Linked DNA regions of Homo sapiens: region 2 is linked to region 1. Evidence: promoter capture Hi-C in 16 types of primary human blood cells and fetal thymus (Javierre and others, 2016). All regions are on one chromosome and are shown on one strand. Each heading gives the region's core, a stretch centred on a gene start or on the middle of the fragment in contact. The rest is flanking DNA. Distances are from core to core; before and after follow the strand shown. Region 1 holds the start of SNTA1 (syntrophin alpha 1). Region 2 has its middle 15 kb from the start of EIF2S2.

Region 1 (6,997 bases), core at 2,497-4,996:
GTGCAGCAGCACATCTTGGTTCACTGCAAGCTCCGCCTCCCAGGTTCACGCCATTCTCCTGCCTCAGCCTCCTGAGTAGCTGGGACTACAGGCGCCCGCCACCACGCCCTGCTAATTTCTTTTTGTATTTTTAGTAGAGATGGGGTTTCACTGTGTTAGCCAGAATGGTCTTGATCTCCTGACCTCGCGATCCGCCCGCCTCGGCCTCCCAAAGTGCTGGGATTACAGGCATGAGCCACCGTGCCCAGCCAAGTTTTTGTATTTTAGTAGAGACGGGGTTTCACCATGTTGGTCAGGATGGTCTCGATAGCTTGACCTCGTGATCTGCCCACCTCGGCCTCCCAAAGTGCTGGGATTACAGGCTTGAGCCACCGTGCCCAGCTAATTTTCGTATTTTTGTAGAGAATGGGGTTTTACCATGTTGGCCAGGCTGCTGTTGAACTCCTGACCTCAGGTGATCCAGCCGCCTAGGCCTCCTAAAGTGCTGGGATTACAGGTGTGAGCCACCGCGCCTGGCCAGAGCTTGCAGAGACTTTAGTAGGCTGGGCAGCTCCCCTCTCTCCCTTTTTTTCCCCTTCCCCCTCTCCTATTCCTTGGGAGTGAACTGGTTTTCTCTGGGAGCTCTGCCTGGGGCTTGGCAGGGAGCCGGGCCTATGTGTATCTATCTGGGAGGCCAATTTCTGAGCCACAGCAGAGAGGCATCGGCTGACCACAGTGTAGGGATAGAGCATTCCTGCAGCTACAGGGTTCTTGGGGGTAGCTACAGGTGATTGGCACTGCCTATCAAGTGTGATCACAAACACACACACCCATACTCACATACAGACGTATACATATGCATACACACGTCACTGTTTCCTTGGCTCTACATCTTCTTTCTGTGTTAGCCCCTTTGCACACATCACTCCTTTCCCTACTTCCTTCCTTCCTGTTATATCCACAGGAAACTGTCCCCCAGAGGAGAAGCCCTCTCTTAGGGCTCTTTCTCAGTAAGTTTGTCTGGGCCTCATTAAGTCTTTTTTAAGCAGGGCAGTACGTGGGGGGACTTTTAAGGATCTGGTTCCAGGCTTTGGTCTTGGGAAAGGAGCTTCAATTCCCTGCTGGTCTCTTGCCTCCTGCCAGGTCTGTCCTCCCCTCCCTTCTCTACCATTGGAGTGAAGCTTCCACAAGCCAAGTAGGCTGTAGTTATTTATCACAAGTGCTTACCCCAAATTCCTCAGGCTGTCCTACAATCTTTAAGCACAGTCATACTTTTAAGATATCAATGCTTATATACAATGCTATATTCCTTCCCTGCCTCCCTTCTCTCCTTCCTTCCTCTCACTTTCTTTTATTTATTTTTGAGACAGGGTCTTGCTCTGTCACCCAGGCTGGAGTGCAGTGGCATGATTGTGGCTCACAGCAGCAGCCTCAAACAGGCCTCCTGCTGCAGCTTCCTAAGTAGCTGGGAGTACAGGTGCACATTACCACGCTTGGCTAATTTCTTTATTTTGTAGAGATGGAGTCTCGTGAAGTTGCCCAAGTGGTCTCAAACTCCTAGCCTCAAGTGATCATTCCTCCTCGGCATCCCATATATATATGTATAAAAGACCCTGGGTTCTTTTTTTAAAACCTGTGTCTCTCCTGTTTTGACACCTACCACTCTAACTTAAAACAATTCCTTTTTTTTGTTGTTGGTTTTTTTTTTTTTTTTTTTTGAGACGGAGTCTCACCCTATCACCCAGGCTGGAGTGCAGTGGTGCAATCTCTGCTTGCTGCAATCTCCGCCTCCCGGGTTCAAGTGATTCTCCTGCCTCAGCCTCCTGAGTAGCTGGGATTATAGGTGTCTGCCACCACGCCCGGCTAATTTTTTTATATTTTTAGTAGAGATGGGGTTTCACCATGTTGGCCAGGCTGAGTCTCAAACTCCTGACCTCGTGATCTACCTGCCTCGGCCTCCTAAAGTGCTGGGATTACAGGCATGAGCCACCATACCTGGCCCCCTCTTTTTTTTCTTGATGGTATCTTATGTGGAGGATTTTACCCAAAAGTTCAGGGAGGCTAAACACTGGTGTAGTCCTACTTATTTATTGCTCAACATATCCCAGCTAGGAATGGAGGATAGAGACAAGGAGCAGGTATGAAGGCCAGTTGAGCTGTGTGATGTGGTGGATTTTTCAGATTACAATCATGCTTTACCTCTGTATTTGTCAGCTGTCTAGCAGAGTGGTTCAGTGCCCAGGCACTGGTGTCAAACAGGCCTGGGTTTGAATCGCAGCTCTTCCTCACTCATAAATGTGTGACCTAGGCCAATTAGACTAAATCCAAGTTTTCCCTTCTGTATAATAGGGGTGCTCTTTTTTCTTGCTCTGTCACCAAGGCTGGAGTGTGATGGTGCAATCACAGCTCACTGCAGCCTGGACCTCCAAGGCTCAAGCGATCCTGCCACCTCAGCTGTGATTACAGGTGTGAGCCACTGTGCCCAGCTGGGGGTGCTCTTAGCTACTCCAGGAGGCTAATGTAAAGATAACACTTGGAAAATATTCTGCCAGCCCTAGGTAAGAGTAAGCATTCACTAAATGAAAGTGATTATTTCTATAGAATAGGGAGTCACAGTTTACCACGTGTTTTCACATTGATTTAATCCTCACACCAGCCCAGTGAAGTAGGTATTATTATGATCCACATTTTACAGATGAGGAAATTGAGGCCTAGAGCAGTGACGTGAGGGGACCAAAGTCGACTTGGAGCTAACAGAGGCAGCAAAGATTAGAAACCATGTCTCCAGTCGCCCAGACCCAGAGCCCCACCTTGCAACCCTCTTCCCACACACCAGTTCTGTTTTTTTTCTGCCAGGCCTCAAAGTGTGGGACTTCAGGCTTTTCTATACTCGACTGTGAACACAGCCAGGGGTTAATCTCTTAAACTTCCCTCCAGTTTTGAAGTGGGGATCCTGCCCACACCTCCCCCAAGCCCTAAGCGGTGTCGGTAGCGGTCTCCTCCAGGGGGCGGGGCCTGTCATCTTTAGAAGCCACGCCAGCGATAAGCCACGCCCACAGACCAAAGCCTCGACCCCCACCCCCCATCCCCCGCCCTCCCCGATAGGAAACCAACTTCTTCCTCAGCTCCCCAACTAGCAACTGTGCCCGCAAGGTCTCTCGCGGCTCAGCATCTACCTTTTTTTTTTTTTTTTTTTTTTGACACAGGGTTTCGCTCTGTCACCCAGGCTGGAGTGCAGTGGCGCGATCGCGGCTTACTGCAGCCTCGAGCTTCTGGGCTGTCATCTAGGCCTCCCAAAGTGTTGGGATTACAGGCGTGAGCCTCCACGCCCAGACGGTGTCTACCTCTTAAACTCAAGCCTTGGAGTCCAACGCTCTACCATACGCAGCCCAGCCCTCCGCCATATGCAGCCCAGCCCGATGCCCAGTGCTTCGCACCAGGATACGTGGTTCTGTCTCTTTTTCATGCGCTCCCACGTCCGGGAGTTACAGTCCCGGCCCTCGATGGGCATTCCGAGCGCCGAGCCCCCTGCGCGGGCTCACTGGGTTCCGCCCCCGACGCGAAGCCCCGCCCCCTGACGCCCCGCCCAGCACCACGCCTCCCGGGCTTTCGCCTTACTTAGTGGCCCGCCCCGCCGCCCTTCTGACCCACCCCGCTAGGTAGTCCCACACGGCGGCCCTCGGCTCCCGGGCCCCGCCCCGGCCTCCTGCATTTGCCCGAGGCCCCCTCCCCAGCACTGGCCACACCCCAGGGTAGCCCCGCCCCCAGAGCTCCTCCCCCAGCGGCCGGGGTAGGGTGGCGGCTGGCCCAGCCGGGCCCCCGCTGCCCTCTGCCCTGGGCGCTTGGTCGGAGCGGGCTGGGCAAAGCGGGACAGGGCGAGCGCGGCGGCCCGGGGGCTCGGAGGCGAAGATGGCGTCCGGCAGGCGCGCCCCGCGCACCGGGCTGCTGGAGCTGCGCGCCGGGGCGGGCTCGGGGGCCGGCGGCGAGCGATGGCAGCGGGTGCTGCTGAGTCTGGCGGAGGACGTGCTGACCGTGAGCCCCGCCGACGGCGACCCTGGTCCCGAGCCCGGCGCTCCGCGGGAGCAGGAGCCCGCGCAGCTCAACGGCGCCGCGGAGCCGGGCGCCGGGCCCCCGCAGCTGCCAGAGGCGCTACTGCTCCAGCGGCGCCGCGTGACGGTGCGCAAGGCCGACGCCGGTGGGCTGGGCATCAGCATCAAAGGTGGGCGCGGGACACCGAGGGCGCGGGGTCGTGGTGTCTGGGGGCAGCCGAGGGCGCAGGGGGCTGGCAGCGCGCCCAGGACATGGAGCTGGAGGCTTCCTGTCTGGGGGTAAGGGGGGTCTGAGGAAACAGGTAACGGAGGGCACTGGGCACACCAAGGTTGGAGGGGGTTTCAGTAGTTGGTGGCCTTAGGGGGCACGGAAGACACAGGTGTGGATAAGATTGTGGGAGCACCAAGGACACGTGGGTGGGAGTTCTGTGTGGAGGCGGGGGGGTCTGAGGGGTAACCAGCATGAACATCAAGGACAAGAGGGGTCCCCCGGAAAGCAGAGTGTGGAGAAAGGGGGTTGAGGCCGGGACACCAGTGGGACAGGGAGGAGGGAGTCCCTGAGAAGCAACCAAGGTGGGTGCAGAGGGGAAGCCTGGAGTCTGGGAAGCACAGGGGTGGATAGGAGGCCTGGGTGCAGGCACAGGCTGGGGTCACAGGCAGAAGGCCAGCAAGGACCTAGGAATCTAAGGACCCAGGAAGGCTGCAGGGAGCCCTGACAGCTGGATTTGGGTCTCCTGATCTGACTATCTCCACCTTGCACAGGATAGAGCTTTCAGCCCCCAGGACTGACCGCTAGTGGGGTGCAGTTAGGGTGCAACCAGACTGTGTTTGAATCCAGGATCAGCTGTGTGAGGTTGCAAAAGTCCCGTCCCGCCTCTGAATCTGTTTCCTCAACTGTATAAGAGGATGACAGAGTTGTGATGTTTCTGAGAGCAGGGCTCACCACACCAGCACACTGTAGGTGCCTAGTTAATTACTGCTGTTAGCGGAGAGGAAAAATGGAGGCCAGCAGATACTCCCAAAGCAACTAAACATAGTTGTTAAAATCCTTGCACACCCCCAGCTGCTGGGTTCACTATTCCTGCCCATCTGTTTCTCAGGGTCCCAGCCCCCAGCAGGTGCTTTGGGAAAGGGTATCAGCCTTTGTCTCCACCTTGAATACATACCGTACCCTCTGGGGTCTCCCTGGTACTGGTTCTGTTGACTAGTGCCTCCAGACCGTTTGGCTTGGCTGAGGCGGTGGGGATGGTGGTGAATGCCACCACTGTGTGCCAGGTGCTGTGCCCAGGACACTAGTCTCATGATCCACTTCATCCTGGCAACAAGTGGTGAAAGGTAGGGAGTATAATTCCCATATTGCAGGTGAAGAAACTGAGACTCAGAAAGTTAAAATGATTTTCCCACGATTACATAGTGAGTGTCAGTGCTGGGATTTGAACCTTAATTATCAGCTACTGTCCCTCAGAGAGTGCTCAGGGAAGTTGATTCTTTCCTGTAGAAGGGCAGATCCCCAGGCAGCCAACCAAGAGGGGCTAAAAAGGAGAAATGAGAAAATGAGGGTATGGGCACCAGTCTTACCCCCAATCTCCAGCATGGGATAGGGCAACAGATGAATCCAAAAATTATACACTCAGTGTGTCAAAGCAGGAAGGAACTTATTCATACAGAATTCCATTCTGCAGATGGACACACTGAGACTCAGAGAGGAGCAGGGACTTTGCAAGGTCACACAAAGTTACTCCCCAGCTCCATAATTCTAGGTGGAGGGGAGGGTACTTTTAGGAGACTTCAGGTATTTCCATTGGATCCAAATCTGGGCTCCTGTTGCCATGGTAACCCCTCCTATAAAGTCTAGCTTAGTCTGAGGCAGCCATGAGTGATCATAGCTTCAAACTGAACTGAAGCCCCTAGTTTCAGGTGGGGGAGGGCAGATATAAATAGAAACCCCTTCCTCTCCTAGACTTCAAGCTCTGTGCAGATAAGCAAACGGTCGGGCCTGTGTGGGCGTCAAGAGAGGTGTTCCAGTCCCAGCTCCGCCACCAGACTTGTGTGACCTTGGAACAATGACCTCCCACTCTGGGCCACTAATTCTTCATCTTCAGTATTCTGGGGATGAGCCAGGAGTGTGATATCTGAGGGCCTGACTTGTCGTCTGTGGTAGGGCTAATAGTGTTGGTTCTGGAGCCTGGAGGCCTAGGTGCAAATACTGGCTTCGCTACTTACTAGTGGAGTGACCTTGGACAAGGGGCTTCCCTCCACACTTCAGTTTCCCTAATAGGAAACTGAACATACCTATGTGATGGGGTATTGTAAAGACGCAATGAATCAACATTGAAAGCATTTAGCACAGTGCTTGGCATTTGGTAAGTGCAACTAAGGTGAACTCTTATTACTATTTCTTATTTTAAAAGGGCATTTAAGAGTTTGGTAATAAAGATGTTTAGTAAAATGTATTAGCTTCTTTTGTATCCAAGATGCCATTCAGGCAGGTTTTTAGAATCTCTAGACTCTAAGGCTTTGGTTTCCAGCCTGGACTTTGGATTGTAAAACATTATGATTGCTAAAGCAGTCTTTTGAGGCCATAGGAATAGCCGACTTGTCTCTTGATTCCGGTTTGAGGGGTATCAGTGGGTTCCCACATTGTTGCCTTTTTGTGTGTGTGTGTGAGACAGTCTTGCTCTGTTGCCCAGGGTGGAGTGCAGTGGTGCGATCTCGGCTCACTGCAATCTCCACCTCCTGGGTTCAAGCAGTTCTCGTGCCTCAGCCTCCTGAGTAGCTGGAATTATAGGCACACACCGCCATGCCTGGCTAATTTTTGTATTTTTGTTTTATTTTGAGATGGAGTCTTGTTCTGTCGCCCATGCTGGAGTGCAGTGGTGTGATCTTGGCTCACTGCAACCTCCACCTCCTGGGTTCAAGCAATTCTGCTGCCTCAGCCTCCTGAGTAGCTGGGACTACAGGCATGTGCC
Region 2 (6,925 bases), core at 4,079-6,578, 680 kb before region 1:
TTTGACATGGCATAAGTAGGAATGCCTAAAATTGGCCAAATCCAATTAATATCTCCTAGCAATTTTTGAAAGTCATTTAATGTTTTTAATGTGTCTTTTCTTATTTCTATTTTTTGTGGTTTAATTTTTCTATTTTTTACCTGCATCTATGTTAACTGGGATTGGCGGCCCTATTTTTGCGGATCTGTTGTTGTACCCCATCAATCCACCAGGTCTTAAATTGTAAAAATTGAGAAGGTGAGAGTGATGATTTGGCCAAAATTTCCCAGTCATAAGGAATAAGTCTATTTCCATGAGCAATGGAATCTAATAATGTTCTCATATAAGGAGAATTGGGTCCATACTGTTTTACTCCCTCTTTCATGTCTTTTAGCATTTTTATAGAAAAGGACTCATATCTGGCATCAGCTTGGGGAGGGCCCTTCTCCAGGTAGTATGGGCTCTAATATTACTTGAAATTAAAACGCCTCAGTATCTCTCCTTGTTTTCTTGCCTTCTCAATAATTTCATGTAATGCACCATCCTGTCCACTAGGTGGTGGTGTAGGATTAAGTCTCATAGTGGGCAGCTGAGGCTATATCGCCGTGCGTGCCCTGTGGTGCTGGAAACGTTCCTGGCTGTCCATACTGATTTTCTGGGGGGCGGCTGATACTGAAGTTCGGCTGGCGGTCAGTATTGATAGGGTACTGGCGGTTGGGTCTTACTTTCTACCAGCTGATATTGTGAATACTGTATCTGGATTGGCATTGCTGTGATAGAGACTATCCTTTTCTATCTGATATTCTCTTGGGGTTTGTACTTGTCTAACCTGCATTTGAGGTTGTAATGTTACGGGCATCTGAACTGTGGGAGGAGGAGTTGGCCATCGTGGGTTAGACTCTGATGGCCCCAATAGTTCTAGACCTTTTCCCCCCAATTTTGATGGTTCATAATATATTACCTCCTGTAATTGGTTGTAGTCAACATTTTCCGTTGACTGAGCCATTACACTCTTCTACCCTTTTTTTCTTTTTTTTTTTTTCGAGACGGAGTCTCGCTCTGTTGCCCAGGCTGGAGTGCAGTGGTGCCATCTCGGCTCACTGCAAGCTCCGCCTCCCAGGTTCACGCCATTCTCCTGCCTCAGCCTCCCGAGTAGCTGGGACTACAGACACCTGCCACGACGCCTGGCTAAGTTTTTGTATTTTTTTAGTAAAGACAGGGTTTCACTGTGTTAGCCAGGACGGTCTCGATCTCCTGACCTTGTGATCCATCCGCCTCGGCCTCCCACAGTGCTGGGATTACAGGTGTGAGCCACTGCGCCCAGCCAGACTCATCTACCTTTTTATACTGTGAACCTTGCGTTACTTTCTTGAATTCTGTCCCTGCCTCTTCCTCACAATCTATTACACAGCTTTCAGGGGCATCAGAAACTGAAACGCTATCTTCTTCTGTTTGAAATGATTCTAAACCTATTTTAATAATGGCCCAATCATTCCATACTGTAAGTGGGATGATTTTATCCTCCCTATTTGCTTGTTTTAATTCTTTGCCAATTTTTTCCCAGTCTTTTAGATCTAACGTTCCCTATTCTGGAAACCATAGGCAGAATTGTTCTATTGTTTGAAATAGCATGATTAGATTTCTGTGGAGGCTCTAACTCCCCCTCTTCTTAAAATAACTTTAATAAAGCTGAGATAAGAGGCATATTTGCTTTCAGTTTGACCCATTCTTACCCTGGGTTTCTCTGAGTGCACAAGCTTACCACAAGGCTGATCATGGAAGTCTTCGGGAATCTCTCGTCGATTTGTCTTCAATGATCACACTCTAGCGTATCTTCACCGTAGAGAAAGGAACCCACATTGGGCACCAGATGAAGAGGGCCTGCCCCTGCACACCTGTGGGTATTTCTCGCAAGGTGGAGACGAGAGACTGAGAAAAGGAAATAAGACATAGAGACAAAGTATAGCGGAAGAAAAATGGGCCCAGGGACCGGCGCTCAGCAAGTGAGGACCTGCACCAGCGCTGGTCTCTGAGTTCCCTCAGTATTTATTGATCACTATCTTTACTATCTCAGCAAGGGGAATGTGGCGGGGCTATAGGGTGAAGGTGGGGAGAGGATCAGCAGAAGACCATGTGAGCAAAGACTCTGTGTCATGAATAAGTTTAAGAAAAGGTGCTGTGCCTGGATGTGCACAATCGCTAGATTTATGTTTAAGCTTACATAAACACCTCAGTGCAGTAAAGAGTAACAGAGCAGTATTGCCGCCATGATGTCTCATCTCCAGCCATAAGGAGGTTTTCTCCTATCTCAGTAAATAGAATGTATGGTCGGGTTTTACACCGAGACATTCCATTCCCAGGGACGTGCAGGAGACAGATGCCACACTCTTATCTCTACCGCATAGAGGCCTTCCTATTTCACTAATCTCCTTAGCACAGACCCTTTACGGGTGTCGGGCTGGGGGGCTGTAAGGTCTTTCCCTCCCCACGAGGCCATATCTCAGGCTGTCTCAGTCCGGGGAAACCTGGACAATACCCAGGCTTTCTTGGGCAGGGGTCCCTGCGGCCTTCCACAGTGCATTGTGTCCCTGATTAATAGAGAATGGAGAATGGCGATGACTTTCACAAAGCATACTGCCTGCAAACACATTTTTTTTTTTTTTTGAGAAGGAGTGTTGCGCTGTCGCCCAGGCTGGAGTGCAGTGGCACGATCTCGGCTCACTGCAAGCTCTGCCTCCTGGGTTCATGCCATTCTCCTGCCTCAGCCTCCCGAGTAGCTGGGACTACAGGCGCCTACCACCACGCCCAGCTAATTTGTTGTATTTTTAGTAGAGACGGGATTTCACCGTGTTAGCCAGGATGGTCTTGATCTCCAGACCTCGTGATCTGCCCGCCTCAGCCTCCCAAAGTGCTGGGATTACAGGTGTGATTTTTTTTTTTTTTTTTTTTTTGAGACGGAGTCTTGCTCTGTCACCCAGGCTGGAGTGCAGTGGCTCAATCTCGGCTAACTGCAAGCTCCGCCTCCCAGGTTCATGCCATTCTCCTGCCTCAGCCTCCCGAGTAGCTGGGACTACAGGGGCCCGCCACCACGCCTGGCTAATCTTTTGTATTTTTAGTACAGACAGGGTTTCACCATATTAGCCAAGATGATCTCGATCTCCTGACCTCATGATCTGCCCGCCTCGGCCTCCCAAAGTGCTGGGATTACAGGCATGAGCCACTGCGCCTGGCTGCAAAAACATTTTTAACAAAGCACATCCTGCACAGCCCTAAATCCCTTAAAACTTGAGTCAATACAGCACATGTTTTTGTGAGCACAGGGTTGGGACAAGAGTTACAGATTAACAGCATCTCAAAGCAGAACAATTTTTCTTAGTACAGATCAAAATGGAGTTTCTTTTGTCTTACTTTTTCTAGATAGACACAGTAACAGTCTGATCGCTCTTTCTTTTCCCTATACATTTTGAGTTGATTTTTTGCGTATGGTGAGAGACAGGAGTTTAGTTTCATTCTTCTGGATATGGATATCCAGTTTTCCCAACAACATTTTTCCCCAATGTATGTGCTTGGTACCTTTGTCAAAAATCAATTGGCTGTACGTGGATTTATTTCTGGGTTCTCTTTTTGTTCCCTTGGTCTGTGTTTTTATATCAATACCATGCTGTTTTGGTTATTAGAGCCTTGCAGTATATTTTAAATTCAGGTGGTGTGATGCCTCTAGCTTTGTTCTTTTTGCTTAGGATTGCTTTGACTATTTGGACTTTTTGTTCCATACAAATTTTAGGATTTTTTTTCTGTCTTTCTTGTTTTACTAGAGCAAATCCTCCAGTGCTTTCCTAAGAAAAGTTATGTGGGGATGAGGGGTAAATTTCTGATCCTTGCATGCCTAAAAATATACTTATTTATTCCTCATACTTGACTGATAATATGGCTTAGTATAGGAGTTCTAGATTGAAAACGTATTTTCTCTCAGAATTTTGAAAGCCTCCCTATATCGTCTTCTAGCCACTAATGTTACTATGGACAAAAATGCTATTCCTATTACCTGCTCTTTCATAAGTAACCTGTTGCCCTTTCCCTGCCCCCTCCTCACCTCCTATCACCAAGATTTTTGATTTTCTCTTTATCCTTTGTGTTAAAAAATTTCATGATGATGTGCCATAATGTTTTTCCTTTGTTTTGTTTTCTTTCATTATGCTGGGCACTCAGCAGGCTCTGCCACTCTGGAAACTCAGTTTCTTTGATAATTTTCTTCCATTTCTTCTGTATTTCCAGAACTCCTGTTAATCTAATGGTCGACCTTATGGATTCATCCTCTAATTATCTTTTCTCTTTTATTTTTCCATTTGTATTTCTGTTCTACTTTCTGAGAGATTTCCTCAACTTTATATATTAAGACTTATATAAATTATTTATTTTTCTATTATTATTATTTGAGAACAGGTCTTGCTGTATTGCCCAGGCTGGAGTGCAGTGGCATGATCATAGCTCACTGCAGCCTCCATCTCCTGGGCTTGAGCAGCCCTCCTGACTCAGCCTCCTAAGTAGCTGGGACCACATGCATGAGCCACCACAGCTGGCTAATTTTTTTTCTTTTTTTATTATTTATTTATTTATTTATTTATTTATTATTTTTTTGAGATGGAGTCTCGCTCTGTTGCCCAGGCTGGAGTGCAGTAGTGTGATCTCGGCTCACTGCAAGCTCTGCCTCCTGGGTTCATGTCATTCTTCCGCCTCAGCCTCCCTAGTAGCTGGGACTACACGTGTTCGCCATCATGCCCGGCTAATTTTTTGTATTTTTAGTACAGATGGGGTTTCACCATGTTAGCCAGGATGGTCTCGATCTCCTGACCTCGTGATCCGCCCGCCTCGGCCTCCCAAAGTGCTGGGATTACAGGCGTGAGCCACTGAACCAAGCCTAATTTCTCTTTTTAAAAGAATGTTTAGCAGAGAAGAGGTCTATCTAATATTGCCCTGGTTGGTCTTGAACTCCTGGCTTTAAACAATCCTTCTACCTTGGCTTCTCAAAGTGCTGGGATTACAGGCATGAGCCATAATGCCCAGCCAATTTTTCTATTATATTTTTAATTCCCCAGAGCTGTTACTTACTCTATTTTTTTTAGAGCATTTTATCTTTGCTTTATGGATGCAGTATTTTCTATTATCTCTCATAGACTGCTTATTGTTTTTTAAAAATATTTTTCTGTTCTCTTCAGTTTCTGTTCCCTTTGAGTTTCTTTTTTCTCTATTTGATGCTGTCTTTCCTGGTGGAGGTTTATCTTAAATATCTGGTGACCCTTTGTTGTCTCTTCATATTTAAGAGTGAGTCACTAAGTATTTGGAAGCTCTGTGTTAACAGGAAGTTTATCTGTAGGATGATAAAGTGGGTACCTAGGTGTTTTGTTGGGGGACCTCAAATATCAGTATGTATAGATCTTTCCTCTGGGGTTAATTAATTAAAATTAATTCCCTGATATCTTGCCTGGAGAATACAAGCCTTGCTGTCAGCATTCCTGGAATAAATTTCAGCAGGAGGACTGAGTGCGCTTCACCATTCAGCATGTAGACAATTCATCTAATCTCTGTTTTCAGTCTGAAATCCTCCTACCTTAGCCTCCCTGCTATTATATCTTTAGCTGTGCCTGGTATCTCAGTGTCTGGAACTTCTCTACCTCAATTTTGTCCCAGGGGCTGCTAGGGAGATGAAAGGGTAGTTGTCTAAGTGAGTAGGATGGAGAAAAAGACCTGGCAGTTTCACTTCCTATAAAGGCTTTCAGCCAAACCCTCTCTCTTCTGCCTCTCACATCACCTCTGATCTGCTCTGTCCCAGTCCTGACATTCTAGTGTTCTGCAGTACGAATCTGTTTGTCCCTTGTTAGTATAACCCTCAGCAAACATTTAGAATTGTTTTCTCAGCTCAGCTATGGTTTTCCATCTTCCAAAAATTTGTTGATATCCTTAATCTGCTATTGATTTCTTTCTTATTCTCTTTGTCTGTAGACTGGTAAACCTAAAAATGTTAACTCACTGTCACTTCAGTGATTTGGGGAGTGAACAGGGATAAACATATGTGTTTAATCTGTCCAAGCATAAACAGAAGTGCAAGACTGTCAAGATGTCCACTCTTTGCTCCTATTAAAAAAAGTTAGAACCAGAAAATTCATAGATATGGCTGGGCGAGGTGGCTCACGCCTGTAATCCAGCACTTTGGGAGGCCAAGGCGAGTAGATCATGAGGTCAGGAGTTCAAGATCAGCCTGGCCAAGATGATATAACCCCATTTCTACTAAAAATACAAAAATTAGCCAGGCACAGTGGCAGGCGACTGTAATCCCTCCCAGCTACTTGGGAGGCTGAGGCAGAAGAATCGCTTGAAGCTGGGGGACAGAGGTTGCAGTGAGTCAAGATTGCACCACTGCACTCCAGCCTGGGCGACAGAGTAAGACTCCGTCTCCAAAAAAAAAAAAAAAAAAAAAAAGAAAATTCATAGGTAAAATATAGATAAAATTCTACTCTCATAGGCCAATGTGGAAAAAGTAGGAGTCTGAGAGTTGCGGTACATGTGTCCAAGCCCTGTTATTATCATTTACTGGTCTGAAGCTAGGTAAGTTAAATTTTCTGACCATCTGTTTCCTCATCTGTAAAGTGGTGATAATCATCCCTAGATAGTCTATCTTACTTGTAATGATGAAGTAAAATAATTGATATAAATATATAAACATCAAATATATATCATTTATCATAAACTCTATTAGAAGTAGGCACAGTTAAATATATTTTCAGAGGCACTGTAACATAGTAGAAATAATATGGGCTTCAGATTCACACAGACTTGGGCTCAAATTCCATCTCTGTTACTCACTGGGTTATGTTGGGTAAGTGACTGACACTCTCTGAGCCTTCATTAACCTGTTTATAAAATGGGTATAATACTTTTAACCTGACAA

What was found. Contacts are between HindIII fragments. The CHiCAGO score rates a contact against its expected background, and 5 or more counts as called.
Region 2: a fragment that was not itself captured here is called in contact with the fragment with the promoter of SNTA1 in region 1 in 1 of 17 cell types (endothelial precursors); the score reaches 5.0 in endothelial precursors.

The regions. Positions count from the first base shown.
Region 1 is chr20:33,440,512-33,447,508 of GRCh38, reverse strand. SNTA1 (syntrophin alpha 1) reads left to right here and starts at 3,746. Exons shown (of 8, transcript NM_003098.3): 1 at 3,746-4,198. The coding sequence starts at 3,889. RefSeq lists enhancers at 2,741-2,800, 2,772-3,272, 3,251-3,320 and silencers at 3,551-4,030, 4,141-4,200. The HindIII fragment of the contact is 9,847 bases long and covers 1,163-6,997 here.
Region 2 is chr20:34,123,457-34,130,381 of GRCh38, reverse strand. No RefSeq gene overlaps it. Among named protein-coding and RNA genes, the nearest start is that of EIF2S2, 15 kb to the right of the region's middle. RefSeq lists an enhancer at 385-679 and a silencer at 5,619-5,688. The HindIII fragment of the contact is 6,261 bases long and covers 2,198-6,925 here.